Regions from separate parts of the Homo sapiens genome. Here region 2 is linked to region 1. Evidence: promoter capture Hi-C in human tissues and cell types (Jung and others, 2019). All regions are on one chromosome and are shown on one strand. The core of a region is centred on a gene start or on the middle of the fragment in contact, and the rest is flanking DNA. Distances in the headings are between cores, read along the strand shown.

Region 1 (6,484 bases), core at 1,446-3,945:
ATAGCATTAGTGGGACGTTCCAACAGGTGGTTTCAGGTTAACTCTGAAATAAATTATTCTGCTATAGCTGGGCCATGAATTCTAGAAATGTTACAGTGTATGAGGGCCACGTAACAGATACTCCTGTCAGATAGATTCAGACTTCTTAGACAGCCGCCACTATAACAAATCAGTCGTGAATATCTCATAGAGTCTGGTTTTGTTGATGTTTCCTGGTTGGTTGTTTTTGTTGTTGTTCAGAGATGGTGGCTACTGCCACCTGAGACCATAATTAAGGGAGATAGATTTTATTATCACATATTTTCCCCTTCCATCCAGCTAGCACCTCAAAACACTCAGAAGAACCTTTGAGGCCTTCCTCCCAGAAGTTTTGTTAAAACAATGAAATGAGAGCATCAGACTGGCCAGTTTTTTTACTCTAGGGCCATGGAGCTGCTACTTTATGCAGGATTTAAGCTCTGTATTCTAAATATCAAAGAGCATAGTGGAAGAGACAGCCTTTTCTGATAGGATTCAGAGACTGCGGCCCTTACTATCCAAGAGAAGCTTCCTGCCTGCTATGTCTCGGGGTGCTTTTCTTGGTGACCACTGCACTGGGACCTTAGAGAGGAGCACCAAGATGGCAGATGGGAGTTGTCTGAGGCACATAGGTTCTCTTGCAGAGCACCTTGGGAAAGGGAGGTAGAGTACGTGTGCCTTCGCCATCACTATTCTTCATTTCGTCTTAGTGGTGAAAGCACCAACTTACTGCTTCCTCTAAGGGACTACCTACTTATAGAATATAAGGGTAACTGAGCACTTGGTCATAGAGAAGAAAAATAAGGAATGATGTCCTGGGCAAGAAGAGCAAGAGACCTGGTGGGAGAGCTGCACTTGACCCCAAGAACCTCCTTGCAGGATGGTGAGAAAGCCTCCTGTTTGGATGAGCAGGAAGTGGCACGGTCAGATTCCTCTGTCTGGCCTGGTCTTCCGCATGTCTGGTTTCATCTCACAGACCAAATCAGGACTCACTTGTCTGGAAAATGGCCTGAGAATACCTTTCTAATCCCAAACTGAGGGCCCGGAAGTCCATGCTTAGAAAGTGATTGATACATGTTGGTTCAGGTAACAGAATTTTCAAGCTTGGTTTCATGTTAAAACTTTTTCTTAATTTGAGCTGAGGTTAACCATTGACTTAGTCAGTAGAAGCTGATCATGTCTTTGTTCTTCATGTAGTTTATAATGGGACCAATGGTTTTTATATCAGCAAGAAATGACATGTCTATAGGATATGCTCCTTACAACTAATATTTTCCTGATAATTTCAGAAAACCAAATTTTTATCTCTAAACCGTAAATTCATGTTGGCCCACCTGAGCTGAGCTAACCAGAAATAAAAGTTATTTTGCAAAAGAAAGATTAAATTTATCTTATTTTTGGCCTATTAAGTCTATATTTCAGCATTGCATTTAAAAAATCCTGTATTCGGAGAAATTCATTTAAGACCATGGAAAAAAATAGACGTATCACAATTGAGGAACCTTAAGGAGCCGCATCCTTCCTGAACACAAAGGGACTCTTCACATGGTTATGTGTCTCTACACTTAACTCTGAGCCAATGAGAAGAGTTACGTTTACAGAGAGAGGACACAAAATTCCATTAATGCTCATTCCTGGTAAATCTTAGGAACACCAGAGAACTGTTTCTGGCAAAACTTTGCTTCCAGAGGAACAGCTGTTACAGTTTGGTGCTTCCTTGGAATTTCTTGAGATATAGCCTGTCAGCTCTTGGTGAGGAAGTAGCAGAGCTACACCAATCAGGAAGACTTGAACCCTGCTTCTAAGACTTGCTGGGTGACTTTGGGCAAACCATGTAGTATCTCAGCACTCCAAGATGGTAGGCTGAAACACTGTGTGGATAAAAGAGACCCGTGAAGGTGTTAGGTAAACTTACATAGCATTAGAAGTCAAAGGAAATACTGCATAAGCCTTTACTAAAGGGAAAGTGTACCCACAAAAGAGGCCCCAGTAGTGGTTCTGATGACCAGGATATGTAGAAGCAGTGCTGTAGATGGGGAGGCACTCCACGCTCCCTCAGGGGACTGGTCTCCTTACCTGCGGAGGTCTGAGTGACCGTCTGTGCTGCCTGCAGCTGCATGATGTCAATTTGGTTGTTCATCTCGGAGTACTTGCTCTCAGCATCTGTGAGCCGCGACTCCATGCGCTTGCTGTTGCTCTCCAGCTCCATCACCTGCATGACCACGCTGACCCAGTCCCTCTCCTGCTTCTTGTTCAGTTCACTCAGCAGGCTGCTAAGGTTGGCAACTTGGGCCTTGAGCTCCTTCACCTCCTCACAGCAGTTGGCCGCTTTGAGCTGTGGCTGTGCTGGTGTCTTGTGCTTAGAGAGCTTCTGCAGCCACGCTGGGTGGCTGACAAAGGCCACGATGAAAATGCAGAGCCAGGTCACAGCTGAGAGAGGCTTTTTCAGCATCTTTTGTGGGTTTGGGTGAGGAAGGCTCTTCCTTCAGGGGAGTCTGGAGATGCCCAGCTGAGGTCTGCAAAGCTGCAGCAGGCTGACTGAACCTTACGCTTTCACTCTGAGGGCCTCGCCACTTTGTTGTTTTCTCTCTTTCCTTGCTCTTTGCTAGCCTTTCTCAAAGCTTGAGTCTCTGACAGGGGAGCTGAATGGGTAGCCTATAGCTTTCCTTCCAAGCCCGAATGCTCCACAAGTCAGCATCTTAAATATTGTTTGCTGCCTGTACCTCCACCCCTACCATGGCTGCACCAGGCTTTAGCCCCTCCCAGCTCATCTGGGAGGGTCAGGTGCCTGTTGGGTGAAGTCAGCGGCAACTTAGGCCAGAGGAGGGGAGGAGGGAGATGGGGCGAGTCTTTCTTTCCTTGCCTGTACAGTCTCTGGGCTAAGACAAGAGGACTGTGAATTTGTGTGTTTCCAGTTTCGCCTATTAGATTATGCCCCTGCCAGCCACTGGCTCAACTCTATCAGCAAGCAGGACAGGGTCAGAAGAATTTCCAAATTCCGTTCAAAAGGTTATATAACCATGGGGTGAGCGTAAGGTAGGCGAAAGAGACGCTACTCACCCAGGGAGGCCTGTTAATGTAATCCATGCTGTTTATATGAGGATCTGGTATATTTTGACATCCTGCTGAATATGCTTTTATCTAGGCTGATTATTCCCATCTCTGATCATTATTTAGTATTTTATAAAATCCTTACTCAACCTGGATCTAACACTATCTCACATTTGAAATCTTCCAACTTAGAAAAGTTCTAGAAATAGAAGAATAGAGTAAATCTCTTAGGAAGCCAAAAAAAGACTTTGTAGCCACAGGGTTTGGACAGTTGTCTTTTTACATGCTTTCTCCTTCAACAAAGAGAGGGCCAGTATTAGCATATAACACTTGATATTTTGCAAGGAGGTGTCAGAAGATTACAACAGAGATGAAAACTCAGCAGTGCCAAGCATGTCTGGGATTGGTCACCCATGCTTCTGTCAGTTTCTAGGCAGGACAGAGAACAGGCCCATCCTTAGCCCGTGGTTCAAAACTTGGAAAATATATTAAAATATAGAGAAAAGAATCCCTGTCACCTAATAAATCCATATCTAGAGTCTCATTTCCCTCTTTCTTTGCTGGTATGGTTTGCAATTTGAAATTATTCCTCCTCTATTTGTATATGACTTTGTATCTAAAAAACATGAATATTGTAATTTTTCATGTACTATATATGAAGGACAATGCTCTTTTGAAAAGAAATGTGAAAAACATGGAGTTTCAGCAAACATCCTTAAAATAAGCTTTTCACTAAGAATCTATACAAAGGTTCCTCTGTCCTTAAAACAGTAACTCTGTCTTTGGAACATACGATTGCTGTTTCCATGTTATGGAGCCACTCAGGCAGTTACTTGTACTGTTGTAGTCAGCGTGGGTCCTTCCCACATAAGCCTGATGCCTGACAGCTCTCCTCCCATGCCATAATCCCCCAGAGCTCTTTTCCAGTCAGGGCTTCTAGCTCCTCAGAAAGTAATTTCTGTTCAGGCAGCTGGAGTTACTGAACAATTTTTTTTTTTCTCAGAATCAAAAAGCAGTGGAGGATCAGGTGGATCAGAGTTTGTTTTCTCACATACCCAGCCTCCTTTGCCTGCTAAAGGGTGAGGATGTTACTGATACCCTTATAGCAACTTGGCATTCTAATCAAAAGATTCTGTTGAGAATTGGCACTGTCTGCCAGTCTGCTCTCTTTTTGCAAATGTCTAGCCCAGCTGGGCACCACAGCCTTAGCTCCATAGCATTCATTTTAGTAACGAGACTCTGGCCCCAAATATTGGCATCCTACAAGGTCTGCTAAAAATAGGGATTTTCAAGTGGATCTCCTGGCCATCAAATGACACTGAGCTTAAACCACATGCCACAGAAGTGCTATGTACCATACAGTCATGTATAGCAGGGGTCCCTAATCCCCAGGCTGCAGACCTGTACTTGTCCATGGCCTGTTAGGAATAGGGCCATACAGCAGGAGGTGAGTGGCAGGTGAGTGAGCATTACCGCCTGAGCTCTGCCTCCTGTCAGATCGGTGGCAGCATTAGATCCTCACAGGAGTGTGAACCCTGTTGTGAACTGCACATGTGAGGGATCTAGGTTGCGTGCTCCTTGTGAGAATCTAAGTACTGCCTGAAGATCTGAGGTGGAACAGTTTTACCTCAAAACCATCCCCCATCTCCCCACCCCCACCCTGGTCCATAGAAAAATTGTCTTCCACGAAACCAGTCCCTAGTGCCAAAAAGATTGGGGACCACTGATGTATAGCATCCCACGTGACCCTGCTGCCTTGGAACTCTCATGTAACAGTGCAGCAGAGAAAGCACAAAAGAACAGTGGAACTTTGTGGAGTTCTAGCCAGCTTTTGTTTATTCTTCCCAGTAGCTCACCCAAACAGGAAAGTGTTATGAATTGATTCTTATATGTGGGCAGAAAATAAATTAATCATTCATATTTGTACCCCATGTAACAGTCCCTTTTAGGAAAGGTAGGAGGAGGTTCGTAAGTTTGTATTGGAAGCATCTAGCCTTTAGCATGAGTGTCTGGTCTTTGACATTTATTTTCTGGAAACTTATTTCTAACATAAGGCAATACTTGAAGACAGAAGACAGAAGCTCTTGAATTGCATAAGCTACCCAAATGTCAATACTCACCCCCCCTCCAGTTTTGAGGAAAAATAGCTAATTAAGGATATTTCTCATGCCAGAAGATTATCTATTTTCTAAAACATCCACAACCTTATGATGTCCTAGATTCTGAATATCTAAATGAAGGAAAAAGAAGTCCTTGTTTTGAGCACAGCTAAGCCAGTAGAGAAAACCATGAAGGATGTGGAGGACTAAAATGGTATTGCCTTCTCTGAAAGAGGCTTTTAAATCCTTCTTCTGCCTTTCAGTGAGCAGAGTGACCTTAAAAATGGGAATTAACTGACAAAATCTGGAAAACCTAGGTTGGATACTGTTTAGATTTTCCTTTTCTCCATTTTGCTGGTGTTGAAAGAGGGCTAGCTTGGTGCTCCTGGAAAAGGTGTTTATGAAAATTAAGCTTTTGTTCTTAATGAAAAAAGTCAGTGAGGTTGTACTCAACCTGGAGGTTCTCAAAAGACTTCACAGTGTTTGGGCCGCACTGCCTTGGGCTGGCACCAAGGTAGTCTGAGGGTCACAGGGCAGGGGAGCACCTAGGGGTGGTCTCTCCTTCTATCCAGAGAGGAGCATCAGATCCCATTTGCTTGAAAATGCCCCGTTGGAGAGACTGCTGCCCACTCTCAGCTTGTGGAATGAATACATCTCAGAAGAAGCTGCCTTGCTGTTAGTTTTAATTGTGTATCTCAAAGGAATATTTCACTTCTTCTGAAGTCTTTGAAAAAACCACAGCCTGCCATACTCTATACAGCCGTTGAATATCTGCCTTTTTTTTTTTTTTTTTTTTTTTGAGACGGAGTCTTGCTCTGTCGTCCAGGCTGGAGTGCAGTGGCACGATCTTGGCTCACTGGAAGCTCTGCCTCCCGGGTTCACGCCAATTCTCCTGCCTCAGCCTCCCAAGTAGCTGGGACTACAGGCACCTGCCACCATGCCCAGCTAATTTTTTGTATTTTTTAGTACAGGCAGGGTTTCACCATGTTAGCCAGGATGGTCTCGATCTCCTGATCTGTTGATCCACCCGCCTCGGCCTCCCAAAGTGCTGGGATTACAGGTGTGAGTCATCATGCCCGGCCACATATCTGCCTTTCTAGCACTCCATCCCATTCCTGTCTCAACTGAAAGTCCAAGTCCATCACAGAAGATATTTCCATCTTTTCCCTGAGCTTTCTAATTTGCCACTTCTATCAAAGAATGTGTCCTGAACCTATTAGAAGTCTTTTCTCTCAGGCCTTCTCTTAGAGTCCTGTTTTGTTTTGTTCTGTTTTGTTTTGTGACAGGGTTTCACTCTGTTCAGGCTAGAGTGCAAT
Region 2 (6,224 bases), core at 314-2,813, 61 kb after region 1:
CATCTCCTTGTCACGAGGCAACAACCTCCAGGATACACTCAGGTATCAGAGAAGGGAAGGATGCAACTCTGGTAGGCCATGTTAATGGCAAGACCTAGAAGTCACACGTAAAAGTCCTCTTTCCCTTCCTGACCCTGATCAGGACACCCAAGATCGATGTATGTGCCTTTTTTCTGCACTGCATTTAAGGAGTAACAGCTGACTGGGCCCCACCTGTGTGGGTGAAACCTACAGAGAGTGAGGAGGAGAAGTGGAGTGAGAACTCTCCATGTGTGGTTTATTATGGAGGGATTATTAACCCATCTGTTAATCACAATATTTCTTTTTTTCTGACCACCCTGTTGCCTATTGAAGTCACAGTATTTCTAAAATCCCTCAGCAACTTGGAGAGGTCTAAACAAATGACTCAAATCAGTTAACCCAGAGGGTAAAGGTGACAAGGTCCACATCCTCCTTCATTTGAGGATCTCCAGCCAGCTAAGAGCCAGGTGTCCCTGTTGCCTCTGCCGTACAGCGACTCTTACATGTGCAGACTTGTGGCTTTCTAAAGGTTATCCTGGCTCGTCTGTTTGATGTTTGCATACATGCCATGGTGACCCCTCGGTGACCTGGGATGAAATGCTCATTTGCTCAGGGTGACTCTTACGGTGTTCAGTCAAGAGCACTGCCACCCATCACAGACACCTGCTCCCATGGGAGGCCAAACACATTTGAGAGTTACTGGTTGGAGTCCCTGCCAGCTCTCTTCTCAGGAGCCTTAGAGATGAAAAACAGGCAGGCAAAAACTGGGAAACTAAATTTTCTGTGACTTTCTCATTTCTTTTTCAGAGTTCTCACCTTATGGTTTGATTATGGTCACTGGCCAGATGTCAATGAGGCCTTAGTGGAGGGGGTGAAAGCCATCCAGATTGATACCTGGCTACAGGTGAGGATACTTGGTTACAGGTGAAGGTGGCTCCAAGTCTCTCTTCTGTGTGTCTCCTCTTACAAGCATGCTGTGTTCAGTGTCACAAGGCAGTGTGTGTTAATACAGTGCTAAGGAAGTAGGGCTCGGTCCCAGTGTCAAGTGTCCATATTTTCTTTATTTTCTTTTAGAAACTAAAGGGAAGGGAATGAACCATTTCAGAGCATCAACCGAAACAAGTTAAAAGAATTGATCTTTGCCTAGAAGAATAACTAGTTGTTTCAAGTCTCATATGCTACATACTGTGTCTTTTTGAATACCAGGTTATACCTCAGCTCATTGCAAGAATTGATACGCCCAGACCCTTGGTGGGACGTCTCATTCACCAGCTTCTCACAGACATTGGTCGGTACCACCCCCAGGTATGTGGAGACTCTGGGCAGTTTCTCATCTAACCACTGGTTTGGTGGTCAGCCTTTCCAAAAGCTGCCCTGGCGACACAAGCGCAGGAACTGGGAGCCATGTGTTCCATCCTGGCCCAGGAGGGTCTGTCCAGCCAGCCGTCCCAGAGGGCCCGGGAGCCTTGCTAAAAAGAAAGCGTTCCCTCGAAGACTGAGCCCCTTCCTGGTAGTCTCAAGCAGATGTTAATGTCACACTCACCACTTGTTTTGTTATTCTCCTTAAAATTCATACCAGCTCTTCCCCAACCCACATTTCCTTTATAGATGTTTCTTCTGTTTTTCCCTCAGGCCCTCATCTACCCACTGACAGTGGCTTCTAAGTCTACCACGACAGCCCGGCACAATGCAGCCAACAAGATTCTGAAGAACATGTGTGAGCACAGCAACACCCTGGTCCAGCAGGCCATGATGGTGGGTCGGAGCCACTGTGGGGCTTCATAGACCCTGGTCCCTTAGCTGGTGGGCGCAAGTGGGATTGTTTTTCTTCCTCGCATTGGTGCTGTGCACTTCCTCTGACTGCTGGAAATAGTACCTCCTGTGTCTCCAAAACAGACCTTTCTGAGGTTAGCTGATTCTTGATGCTTCTCTCCTTCTTCTCTTGGCTTCAGGTGAGCGAGGAGCTGATCCGAGTGGCCATCCTCTGGCATGAGATGTGGCATGAAGGCCTGGAAGAGGCATCTCGTTTGTACTTTGGGGAAAGGAACGTGAAAGGCATGTTTGAGGTGCTGGAGCCCTTGCATGCTATGATGGAACGGGGCCCCCAGACTCTGAAGGAAACATCCTTTAATCAGGTATGGGGTAAAAAACACGAAAGGACATAACCCTGTAGAAATATTCTGCCACTAAAAAAAAATGAAATGAGAAAAGTTTTTATAGAATGAAAGGACGTGACCCAAGGCCTTTGTCAGATTTCTTTTCCTCTGGCCTTTCCACTGACTTTAATAAAACGAGCTCTGATGGAGGTCACAGAGCATAAAACATCAGAAATTAGTTACAGGGACCCTTCTGAATTTTAACTGGAAAAGCCCAAGATTTCTCAAGAGGTCATCTCGTCTCTCCTCTCACCCTTCCTTCCCTATAAGCCATGCTGCTGGTTTGGAAGCTCCAGGGTTGGAGGCCTGCACCTATGCTCTTGCTTTCTCCAGCCCCCTGCCAGTGTTTTCAGGCCACAGCGGGCTCCTGAGGAATATCTGCAGTCAGCCTGGGGATTTTGCCTCCTGGGTTGGTTGAGACTTTGATAACTTGAAAACGTGCCTGCTTTCTCTCTCAGGCCTATGGTCGAGATTTAATGGAGGCCCAAGAGTGGTGCAGGAAGTACATGAAATCAGGGAATGTCAAGGACCTCACCCAAGCCTGGGACCTCTATTATCATGTGTTCCGACGAATCTCAAAGCAGCTGCCTCAGGTAGGATCTTCAGGCTCCTGGCAGGGTTAACTGTCATTATAGTCCTTTCTGTTTTACTGTCTATGAATGTTCTAACACTCATTCCAAAGCATCTGGTTTTACTTCTGCTTTGGGACAAGTAATTGTTATTAGCAATCCACTGAAAAATACTTAAATTGCGTTTAAATTCTTCCCTGGAGGCAGAACACTAAATCCTTTGGTAATTATTTACAGCTCACATCCTTAGAGCTGCAATATGTTTCCCCAAAACTTCTGATGTGCCGGGACCTTGAATTGGCTGTGCCAGGAACATATGACCCCAACCAGCCAATCATTCGCATTCAGTCCATAGCACCGTCTTTGCAAGTCATCACATCCAAGCAGAGGCCCCGGAAATTGACACTTATGGGTAAGGACCATTGTGCACTTCTGTCACCCACTTCTCCCTCCTACACTGGCTGAGACCCCTTCCCTCTTCTGAAATTACTGCTTGCCATTCCCACTACTCACCTATCATAGCTACATCTCTCCCATGCTCATTGAGAGGAAAATAGAGGGCAAGCAAATTTCTCATTATGTCCTCAGGACTTAGTTCATTCATGTAGTTGGGCTTATGTGAAGCATGATCACACATAAAGGGAATGACAAAGGCATGCAAGGCAGAGAAGTAACAGTGGAAGGCAGGTGTTGGAGACTGATGAGGCCAGGGAGGAGGCAGCTGGGTGCAAGCAGGGAAGGTGCTAGCTCCTCTGAAACGGGGGCTTCTGGCTCTTGAAATTTTTTTCTTTTTTTTTTTACCATCATAGTCTCTGTGGTAAATGATTGTGTAAAATGAACAAGTGGATTCTCACAGTGAGATTTGTTAAGCAAGTGGGCTCTGGAATTTCCCTTGGGGTAGAGTGTTACTTATGGGGGATGTTTTAGTGAGGCCTGAGTGCTGTGGTGGCACTTTGAGGCCTCTCGCTTTTTTTTTTTTTTTTTTTTTTTTTGAGCCAGAGTTTTGCTCTTGTTGCCCAGGCTGGAGTATAATGGCGCAATCTTGGCTCACTGCAACCTCCACCTCCCAGGTTCAAGCAATTCTCCTGTCTCAGCCTCCCGCGTAGCTGGGATTACAGGCACGCACCACCACACCTAGCTAATTTTTGTATTTTTAATAGAGTTGGGGTTTCACCATGTTGGCCAGGCTGGTCTCGAACTCTGACCTCAAGTGATCAGCCTGTCTCAGCCTTCCAAAGTGCTGGGATTACAGGTGTGAACCACTGCGCCCAGCCACCTCTTGCTCTTTTTTTTTTTTTTTTCCCCAAGACAGAGTCTCACTCTGTTGCCCAGGCTGGAGTGAGGTGGTGTGCTCTCGGCTCACTGCAACCCCACCTCCTGAGTTCAAGCGATTCTCGTGCCTCAGCCTCCCTAATAGCTGAGATTACAGGCGCATGCCACACAATCAGCTAATTTTTATATTTTTAGTAGAGATGGGATTTCACCACGTTGGCCAGGCTGGTCTCAAACTCCCGACCTGAGGTGATCCGCCCAGCTTGGCCTCCCACAATGTTAGGATTACAGGTGTGAGCCACCGCGCCCAGCCTCACCTCTCGCTCTTAATAATGCTCAATGTTTCTTAAATGCAGTGATTATTCACCAACACCAATTAATCATGGTCCACAGGTGATTATCTCTGCATGAGCTGTTGTCTTCTGATACAAAATGTGGGTCAGGCTGGTTCTTGGGGTGTTTAATTAAAGAGAGTTTAAGAAAGGAATTGTTTCCAGAGGTGTAAGCAAAGCTAAGAGAATCAACAAGGAGCGCTCATGAACAAGCACAAGTGAGAAATTGTTACTCAGCCCTCACCCACCCCCACACTCCAGAACTGAAAGAGCAAGGAGCCCAGCTAGAACCGTCACCATGCCAGAGAGGCCATCTAGCAGAGTCTACAGTCCAGAGAGAGTGGTAGCTTCTAGAACTGGGGCCAGGCTGGTGATGGGGGACACATACCCTGACCTCTCCCTCTACCCATCCTCTGACCTCCTGCCAGTACCCTTCCACCATTGGCCACGCCCAAGTGGGATCCCAGGTGATGCGGCTTGTAGGAGTCAGGCTTCTCAGAACAGAGGAGGACAGAGTGGGTCGGAAAACAGGAATGATCATTTCCATGCCTAACCGTTCCTGGTCCTCAAAAACAGATTTTGTTTTGTTTTAATTTGAACAACACTGGTCATTGAGAACCATAAAAGGCAAAGCCACTCTTTTCATTAATTCTAAAGATTGTTTTTTCTTTTTGTGAGGAACGTGTGATTAGGTAAGGCATATGTAGTCTGTGGGATCTCTTGAATGCAGTGGTGCTCTCAGCTGAAGAGCTGAGGACCTCTGATGTACACTCACCGCTCCCACTGTTCCTTACAGGCAGCAACGGACATGAGTTTGTTTTCCTTCTAAAAGGCCATGAAGATCTGCGCCAGGATGAGCGTGTGATGCAGCTCTTCGGCCTGGTTAACACCCTTCTGGCCAATGACCCAACATCTCTTCGGAAAAACCTCAGGTATTCAGAAACCCTGAAATGGCAACAATTTGAGAAGTCTTCTGGTTTTTTCCTACATTTGTCTCGTGTAGTCATGTATTATATCTTAACAAAAAACTATAAAATTAGGGAGCCAGGCATGGTAACTCATGCCTGTAGTCCCAGAAACTCCAGAGGTTGAGGCAGGGGGATGGCTTGAGCCCAGGAGTTCAAGGCTGCAGTGAGCTGTGATTGTGCCACTGCCCTCCAGCCTGGGTAATAGAGCAAGACTGTCTCTTTAGAAGAAAAAGGCTGGGCATGGTGGCTCGCACCTATAATCCTAATATTTTGTAATGCCAAGGTAGGAGGATCACTTGAGCCCAGGAATTCAAGACCAGCCTAAACAACATAGAGAGACCCCATCACTATTTATTTAAAAAAATTAAAAAGGTGACCGGGCACGGTGGCCCATGCCTATAATCCCAGCACTTTGGGAGGCCCAGGCAGGTGGATCACTTGAGGTCAGGAGTTCGAGACCAGCCTGGCCAACATGGTGAAACCCTGTGTCTACTAAAAATACAAAAATTAGCTGGGCGTGGTGGCGGCCACCTGTAATCCCGGCTACTCAGGAGGCTGAGGCACGAGAATTGCTTGAACCTGGGAGGCGGAGGTTGCAGTGAGCCAAGATTGCACCATTGTACTCCAGGCTGGGCAACAAGAGTGAAACTCCATCTCAAAAATAAATAACTAAAGTAAGGAAAAAAAAATTAAGTGGCCAGGCATGGTGGCTCACATGTAATCCCGACACTTTGGAAGGCTACAGCAGGAGGATTGCTTGAGACCAGGAGTTCAAGACCATCCTGGACAAAAAAGTGAGACCCTGTCTCTACAAAAAATAAAAAAATCAGCTGGGCATGGTGGCTCATGCCTGTTGTCCCAGCTCCTTGGGAGATGGAGGCAGAAGAATCATCTTAGCCCAGTTGG

What was found. The method cuts DNA at HindIII sites, captures the fragments that hold promoters and counts their contacts. A contact is called where the count stands out against the background at its distance.
Region 2: a fragment that was not itself captured here is called in contact with the fragment with the promoter of ANGPTL7 in region 1 in 1 of the 25 tissues and cell types used here (H1 embryonic stem cells).

The regions. Positions count from the first base shown.
Region 1 is chr1:11,185,566-11,192,049 of GRCh38, reverse strand. It overlaps ANGPTL7 (angiopoietin like 7), which reads right to left and starts at 2,695. Exons shown (of 5, transcript NM_021146.4): 1 at 2,095-2,695. The coding sequence starts at 2,470. The region is part of intron 28 of MTOR (mechanistic target of rapamycin kinase); the gene reads left to right. RefSeq lists an enhancer at 1,842-2,342. The HindIII fragment of the contact is 2,807 bases long and covers 1,881-4,687 here.
Region 2 is chr1:11,123,556-11,129,779 of GRCh38, reverse strand. MTOR (mechanistic target of rapamycin kinase) reads left to right here. Exons shown (of 58, transcript NM_004958.4): 40 at 1-42; 41 at 829-925; 42 at 1,228-1,326; 43 at 1,654-1,776; 44 at 1,974-2,156; 45 at 2,636-2,770; 46 at 2,984-3,158; 47 at 5,147-5,282. Among named protein-coding and RNA genes, the nearest start is that of MTOR-AS1, 17 kb to the left of the region's middle. The HindIII fragment of the contact is 4,318 bases long and covers 1-3,722 here.